Linked DNA regions of Homo sapiens: all the other regions are linked to region 1. Evidence: promoter capture Hi-C in human tissues and cell types (Jung and others, 2019). All regions are on one chromosome and are shown on one strand. Each heading gives the region's core, a stretch centred on a gene start or on the middle of the fragment in contact. The rest is flanking DNA. Distances are from core to core; before and after follow the strand shown.

Region 1 (2,668 bases), core at 79-2,578:
CCTGACTTCTGAGTCACCTTTACATCTCCTTCCTACTTTCACTTTGCTTCTCTGTTTTCCTGGATCGCTGCAACTCCCACTTTCTGTCTTTGCCTTCTTGGAAGATGGGATCTCCAGATCACTTACTCCCTGCCTCCAGCCTCACACGCAGCCTCTCTTAGCCTGTGTAAAACTTTGGGAATTCATAACTCCTTCCCGTTTTCTGTCCAGCACCCTGGGATCCCTACATTTCACCTGCCCTGGGCCCATACATCCTCTAAGTCTGCTCCGACCGTCCTTAACTCTGCCCTCCTAGCCCCGCAGCAGTTCCCGAGACCTTGTGCCTCCTTCCCCGACGCCGCCTGCTCACCGGTGCCCTCGGGCAGGCTCAGGATGTCCTCGCCCTGCACCCAGCGGTAGCACGGGAAGGCCACCTCCGCGCAGGCTCCAGGGCCCTGCACCGTGATGCGGTCGCAGAACCACGCGTCGTCCACCAGCCAGTGGTGCTTGCGCAGCCTCACGAACTGCAGGAGCCCCAAGTCCTCTGCAACGTCATGATCAAACTCCTCCTCCTGTGCAGGCCGGACCCAGGCCAGACTTAGTAGGAGGGACCCGACTGAGGCCGTTTCGAGGACAGAGCCGCGCTCCTGTGCAACCTCAGTTTCTCAGGGCCTCCAAAGACAGCATCGCCTCGTTCCCGCCCCCGCACAACCTGCTCTTTGGGTCTCAGACGCCCGGAGTCGGGTGGAGGACGAGGGCCCGCAGCGCCTGGAGCTGATGCTGGAGCAGCATCGCCCACGTGGGTCCCATTAACTGAGCTCTCCCCGCGCCGGTTCTTGGAGGAGCTTCACGTCTGACCTCTGGCCTCATACTTACATTGGCTCTGGGTCACTGGGAGAAGGAGCTGGGGGCTGCCGGGACCAGGGGCGGGAAAGGGAGATGGGGTTGAGCCCAGCCCGGGATCCCAGCTGCGGACCCTGTCCCTAATCTTGCCCACCTCGTCCCAGCTTCGTGGAAGTCCCAGTCCGCGAGGTCGCGCTGTCACCTCGCCCCCAGCCTCCCGCCCTCCCGCCGCGAGCCCAGCTCGGCCCGGGCCTGGGCCCGGGGTCCCCGCTGCCCTAGCTCCCCTCGCTCCCCGCGCTGACCTCGCCCCGCGCGGGCCGCAGCTGCAGCTCCAGCTCCGCCTCCCCGCGCGTCCCGACCAGCCAAAGCTGCACGCGGTTGTACGACCCGGAGAAGAGCCAGGCCCCGGTGGCCACGCGGATGCGGTAGCGGCCCATGGCGCCCCCCAGCAGCTTAGGCGAGGGGAGCCGGGTCCTGTGCGATTCCCGGGACCGCCCAGGGCTGCCGGCGCCTCGGGGCCACTTCCAACCTTTAAAGGACCGGTCTGCGGCCCCGCCCTCCTCGCAAGTTTTAGGCGCTCCCAAGTCCCCGCCCCAGACTAGCCCAAACCTGCGAGCAGAGCGGTAGAGCCGGCTGTGGGGACTGGCTGTGCCTCCTGGTCGGAGCGTAGCTGCAGGATGATAAAGGGGCCCGAGCCAGGGTGAGGCCAACGGGGTGGGTGCGGCGGGACCTTCCTGGACCTCCCGGGAAGGCGGGATCGAGGTGGGCCTGAGCCCCCGGGTTGGAGCGAACATAGATGAGAACACTTCCCGAGGTCTCCAGGTCTTCTGGGGAGCCAGGAGGAAGTAGGGGATGAGTCCATCTTCCAAACGGAGGGGAAGGTCTCCGCTTTTCTGGGCTGGGACCCGGGGAAGGCAGTGGGCCGGCTTCTGGAAGGTCGGCCTGGGAGGCCGTGCTGGGGTCTGGGGATGTCCCGCGGCTAGACCCGGCGCGGCCCATGTGTCCTCCAGTACCTGAGCTCTGCCGCCCTTGAACGCTGTGCTTCCGTCAACGACCAGGGGTTCCCCAGGGTACCTAGAACCTGGAAATGTAGCAGCTCAACACCCGCTCCCCACCCCGTTTCAAATATCTGGGCGCTGGGGTCCCAATGTACACCAAATATCATGGGCCAGACCTTTGAGAGAGGCCTGAGGCAGGGCAGTGAAAAACTCATTTTGTCCAACCTCCGAAGCGGGTACAGACAATGTTAGGGACCCAGGAACACCAGTCGGGGTGTTAGGGTGCGGGATGGAATTGCTTAGGGACCTGGCCTACGTGGCCAGTTCCCAAGAACTTTGTCTTTTCCAGGTGAGTGCAGCCCCTTCCGCTCCAGTAGGTTCCAGATTAATTTTTTATCCCCAAGCTCTTTCCTGCTCCTTCATGGGTCTCAGGTCTCCTGGAAATCCAGGAACAGCAATTAGCCCACTGCTATTTAGGGCCTTTGTAAACATTGAAGGATGATTCGGAGCTTAGGCTTTCTCTCCCGTGTCAGGAATCAGTCAGATGAAGCCTGCTGCACGCGTCCCTGTCTAGATCTTGATTCAAGTGATTATATGCATTTGGATCTCCGTGGATGCATCTGGTGGCCTGGGCTAGGCCAGTGTAAGTTAAATCTGCTTTCTTGAGCCAGTCCTCAGAAATGACTTGGTGGCCTAGTTGTTGGTAGAGGTAAGTGAGTGGGAGTTTTAGCCCCGCCTTCCAGCCTCCAGATCAGACTCTATCTCAAAAATAAATAAATAAATAAATAAAAATAAAAAAATAAAGTGTCTGTCCCTTACTGGATTCAATTCCCTTTCTTATCTTCTAG
Region 2 (2,668 bases), core at 109-2,608, 250 kb after region 1:
AACATTATTGTCATTTTTCCTGTATGCCTCTTGTGTTTTGTTCCCGTGTTCCTCTTTTCTTGCCTTCTTTTGGATTCTTTGAATATTTTTTTGAATTCCATTTTAATTTATGCTTGGGGATGCATCACCTTCCTAGCACATTGATGTATGATCACCTGCCAGGTAGCTCACCTGAGCTTTAGTGTCCAGAGTTTTTACTGAAGGTCTTTCCATACATTTTAATTTCCCTTCAGCCTAAAGCACTTTTTATTTTGTAGTGTAGGTCTTTTGGCAATGAATTCTTTTTGTTGGTGGTGGTGTTTTTTGTTTTGTTTTGTTTATTTGTTTGTTTGTTTTTGAGATGGAGTCTTACTCTGCCACAGAGGCTGGAGTACAATGGCATGATCTTGGATCACTACAACCGGCACCTCCTGGGTTCAAGTGATTCTCCTGCCTCGCCTCCTGAGTAGCTGAGATTACAGGCATCCACCACCGGGCCTGGCTAATATTTGTATTTTTAGTAGAGACAGGGTTTCACCAGGTTGACCAGGCTGGTCTCAAACTCCTGATCTCAGGTGATCTGCCCATCTCAGCCTCCCAAAGTGCTGGGATTACAGGAGTGAGCCACTGCACCCAGCTGGCAATGAATTCTTTTAGATTTCTTTTATCTGAAAATTCCTTTATTTTGCCCCAATTCTTGAAGGCTATTTTCATTGGAAGTAGAATTCTGGGTTGACAGTTTATTTTTTCTTTCAGTACATTACAAATGTTATTTGGCCTCCATAGTATCTGGTGAGAAGTACATGGTCATTTGAGTTGTCATTCCCCTGTATGTAATCTGTCATTTTTCTCTGACAGGCATCAGGTTTTCTTTTTATCTTTGGTTTTCAGCAGTTTCATAATGATTTGTCTACACATAGATTTCTTCATCTTTATCCTGACTGGGGTTTGCTGAATTTCTTGTGCCTGTAAATTAATGTCTTTCACCAAATTGGGGAAAATTTCAGCCATTGTTCTGCAAGATTTTTTTCTGCCCCATTCTTTGTCTCTTTCTCTGGGACTCATTAAAAGTGTCTTAGACATTTTGATGTTGAGGATCTCTTCTATTTTATTTTTTTTCTTCAGATTAGATAATTTCTGTTGATCTAGTTTCAAATTCACTGACTCCTCTGTCATCTTCTAACTGCTGTTAATTTTTAATTTTAGATATTTTAATCAATTTTAGAACTTCCGCATGGTTTATTTGTATAGTTTTTATTTATCTGCTGAGATTTTCCATTTGTTTATTTATTACAGATATATATTTTTCTTTACATGATTATGCATGGTTACAACAGGTGTTTTAAAATCCTTGTCTAATAATTACAACATATGGGTCATCTTGGATTGGGCTTTTGATTGTATGTTCTCTTGAGAAGGGATCACATTTATCTGTTTCTTTGCTTTTCAAGTAATTTGGGATTGAATTCTAGACATTGTGAATATTATGTTGTATAGATGCTGGCTTCTTTTAGCTCCCTCTGAAAACCATTGATTTTTGTTTGTTTGTTTGTTGCAGGCAGTTAACTGGCGGGATGCAAAGGCAATCTTTGATTCTCAAGTCTCAATTTGGGCTCTTTTTGTTTCTTTCCAAGATCAAGATACAATTTATTGGCCGGGTGCAGTGGCTCACGCCAGTAATCCCAGCACTTTTGGAGGCCGAGGCAGGCAAATCACAAGGTCAGGAGTTCAAGACCAGCCTGGCCAATATGGTGAAACCCCGTCTGTACTAAAAATACAAAAATTAGCCGGGCAAGGTGGCAGATGCCTGTAGTCCCAGCTACTTGGGAGGCTGAGGCAGGAGAATCGCTTGAACCCAGGAGGCAGAGGTTGTAGTGAGCCAAGATCGGGCCACTGCACTCCAGCCTGGGAGACAGGGCGAGACTCTGTCTCAAAAAAAAAAAAAAAAAATTTCTTTATTTTACTTGACTAAAATTTCTGTGTTCTTTAAAAAAAAAGAACATATAATAGTTACACATATTTTGGGAGTACATGTAATATCTTTATACCTGTATACAATGTGTAATAATTAAATCAGTATAATTGAGATATTCATCTCCTCAAACTCAGTTTAGATTTTTAACTAGGTTACTTAGAACTTCTCTCCTGTGTATGTAATTCAGGGGTCATCCAGGGATTTGGGCAGAGTTTATTCGCAGAATTTAAGGCTTCCCCTCTCTGCACTCTCCTTTCTGAGATTTCACCATTACTTTCCAGCTGCTGCGGTTGTCCTCAGGTTCTTTAGGACAGAAAGACAGTGACTTCCCTATTAGAGCTTTAGATAGCCTAGGTGCTCTGCCCTTATACTAGAAGCTGTGAAAATAGAAACTCACTCAATACAGTTTCCTGCTTCCACGTGTCAACTAATGTTGGGATTTTCACAAGCGTTGGGTAGTGCAGTTCCCTTAAGTGTTGACTCCCTCCAGAATCTGTATTTTTTTATCCTCCAGTGCATTCAGGTTGTTTATTGTGGTACCTTGTCCAGAATTTATAGTTATTATTTATGGGAATATCGGTATGATTGCAATGAGTTGGGGAGTAACTTGGAGATGAGAAATTTTTTTAATTTTTAATTTTTGTGGGTATATAGTAGGTGTATATATTTATGAAATACATGAGATATTTCGATATAGACATGCAAGGCATAATA
Region 3 (2,668 bases), core at 61-2,560, 230 kb after region 1:
CATATTTATTTGAAAGTTTTTGTAATCAATTTTATTTCTTTTATTTTTAGTGGACAAGTAATAATGATACATACTTATAGAATACAGAATGATTTTCTAATACATGTATACAGTGTGTAGTGGCCAAATCAGAATTGTAATAAGATTTTTAATAAACAGATTAAGATGGTCAATAGATTCTATAGCCACCCAAGCTTTCATTTTCAGACATATAAGGCCTAAAAAATTTGCCTCTCATGCTTTCTTTCTCAAGAAACTATTTGGGGATATGTTCTATCAAACAAGGAGTAACCTAAGAAAGAGAAAGATGAGACCTGAGATTTGGGAATCAGAACTCCAACCGTGGAGAGAGTGGAAGAAATTCCAGACCAACAGCTAATCATCAAGCCTGGGGCATAACATGCTCCCAAAATGAAATGGACAGACTATCTGATGTGTGTAGTTGTACTCAGGGGAATTTTCAGATCTGGTAGAGAATTTTAGGGATGATTTAGTGATAGGTACCTAGAAAGTGAAGCAAATGAAAAACCGAAGCAATTATTAAGTCCAGGTAAAACAAAAAGTTGTAGGAGAAAGAACACATAATCACAATTCATGTGGAAAACCATTTATAATGTTTACATGGTTATACTAATGTAATACTGAATATTTATTTAACCAGAATGAGTGAAATCAATACATTGGAAGGATGAAATGAAGAACTTTGGAGGTGTGTGTGTGGGATGGGTGGTATAAAAAAGTGAAATCTATATTCCTAAATCCTTATGAGTCAATAAGTAATATCTAAAACTGGAAAAAATATAAGAAGGTGCTTTAGACATATGAAGGTGATTACCAGAAGAAACAGCTAAAAGCAAAAGTAGAGTATTTGTGTCTGGGGAGTAGTTAGCATGAAGGGGACCAGTGGGGCTTATAGTTTTTCTGAGGTCGTGGGAGACAATTAACAAGGGCCATAATAAGTAAGTAAATTAGATAATATGTTAGAAGTTGGCAAATGCTATGGAAAAAATAATAGAAGAAGGTAAGGGGTTGGTAAATATGTGATGGAGAGGGAGTTGCAATTTTAAATAGGTTGTTGTGGTACATCTCCTTGAGAAGGTGCCATCTGGGCAAAGACTTGAGAGAAGTGAGAGAGTTAGCTCCTGGAGTAGGGTGGGGAAGGTGAGGAGGTAGCTTCCAGCCAGAGGCAGTAGCCAGTGAAAAGGCCCTAAGGCATGGTATGCTCAAGAAACAATCAGGAGGCCAGTGAGCTGAACAGGAGTAGTACATGAGATCAAAGAGGTGATGAGATAAGAAGGGAGGCAAAGATGACATAGATCTCTAAAGCCACTGTAGTTTTGAGTTTGCATAAAATGGGGCAAGAATCAGTACAGAGATCTGAACAGAGGAGCCAAACAATCTGACTTGTATTTTTAAGGGATCACGTTGACCTCTGTGATGAGAATAGACTGTAGGGGGCAAGGTGAGAAGTAGGAAGACCGTTTAGGAGACTGCTGCAGCATCTGGGCTAGAGAAGATGATGGTTCATACCAGGGTAGCAATGCGGAGGGAAAGAGAAGTCGAGAGTGAACCTGAGATTTTGGCCTGAACAACTGGAAAGATAGAGTTGCCATCAACTGAGATGGGCCAAGCTGTGGCAGAGAGGATTCCATTTCAGATGTGTTACATTTAAGATGTCTATCAAGCATTCAAGTGAAGATGCAGTAAATAGTAATATACAAATCTAGAGTTTGGGGAGAAAAACCCAGACTGAGATATAAATTTGGAAGTGTCTGACTACATATGGCTTTTTAAAAAATTTTTAAATTTTTATTTATTTATCTATTTTTTGAGATGGAGTCTCGCTCTGTCGCCCAGGCTGCAGTGTAGTGGCGTGATCTCGGCTCACTGCAAGCTCCGCCTCCTGGGTTCACGCCATTCTCCTGCCTCAGCCTCCCGAGTAGCTGGGACTATAGTCACCCACCACCACACCCGGCTAAGTTTTTGTATTTTTAGTAGAGACGAGAGTTCACTGTGTTAGCCAGGTTGGTCTCGATCTCCTGACCTTGTGATCCTCCCACCTCGGCCTCCCAAAGTGCTGGGATTACAGGCATGAGCCACCATACCCGGCCTTACATATGGCATTTTTAAAAATCAGGAGGTAGGATGAAATAATGAAGGCAGTGAATATAGGTAGAGAAGAGACCAGAGACTAAGCCCTGGGGCCCCCCAAAATTAAGAGGCTGGGGAGGTAGAGAATGAGAGACCACCAATGTCCTTGAAAACCAGGAAAGTGTGGTACCCTGGAAGCCGAGAAAGTCCACTGAGGAAGAGGGAGTGATGAGCAGTAAATGCTTCCCATAAATTGAGAACTGAGAACTGAGCATTGGATTTAGCAATGCAGAGGTCATTGATTTTGACAAGAGCAGATTTGGTTAAAATGGAGAGCCAGACTGGAGTGGGAATAAGAATGAGAGAAGAAAAGATGGAGGCAGTTACTTATAGACAACTAGCTCAAATGTTTTTCTACGGAGGGGAACAAAGAAACAAGATGGTAGCTTATAGGAAATGGGATCAGAAGTATTTCATGTTTTTCTGGCTTTGGGTCATATTAATAAAAAGTTAAAGACTGAAAACCACAAAACCACCTAGTATACATGATTTCAATCCTTAATTTTCAAAATTAAAA

The links. Contacts are between HindIII fragments. The study calls those that stand out against the background at their distance.
Region 2: a contact is called between a fragment that was not itself captured here and the fragment with the promoter of ALOX12 in region 1, in 1 of the 25 tissues and cell types used here (lymphoblastoid cells).
Region 3: a contact is called between a fragment that was not itself captured here and the fragment with the promoter of ALOX12 in region 1, in 1 of the 25 tissues and cell types used here (H1 embryonic stem cells).

Annotation. Positions count from the first base shown.
Region 1 is chr17:6,994,709-6,997,376 of GRCh38, reverse strand. ALOX12 (arachidonate 12-lipoxygenase, 12S type) reads right to left here and starts at 1,328. Exons shown (of 14, transcript NM_000697.3): 1 at 1,125-1,328; 2 at 350-551. The coding sequence starts at 1,259. All of the region lies in intron 2 of ALOX12-AS1 (ALOX12 antisense RNA 1), which reads left to right. The HindIII fragment of the contact is 20,112 bases long and covers 1-2,668 here.
Region 2 is chr17:6,746,958-6,749,625 of GRCh38, reverse strand. No RefSeq gene overlaps it. Among named protein-coding and RNA genes, the nearest start is that of XAF1, 7.8 kb to the left of the region's middle. The HindIII fragment of the contact is 5,886 bases long and covers 1-2,668 here.
Region 3 is chr17:6,764,575-6,767,242 of GRCh38, reverse strand. All of the region lies in intron 5 of XAF1 (XIAP associated factor 1), which reads right to left. Among named protein-coding and RNA genes, the nearest start is that of XAF1, 9.9 kb to the right of the region's middle. The HindIII fragment of the contact is 6,608 bases long and covers 1-2,668 here.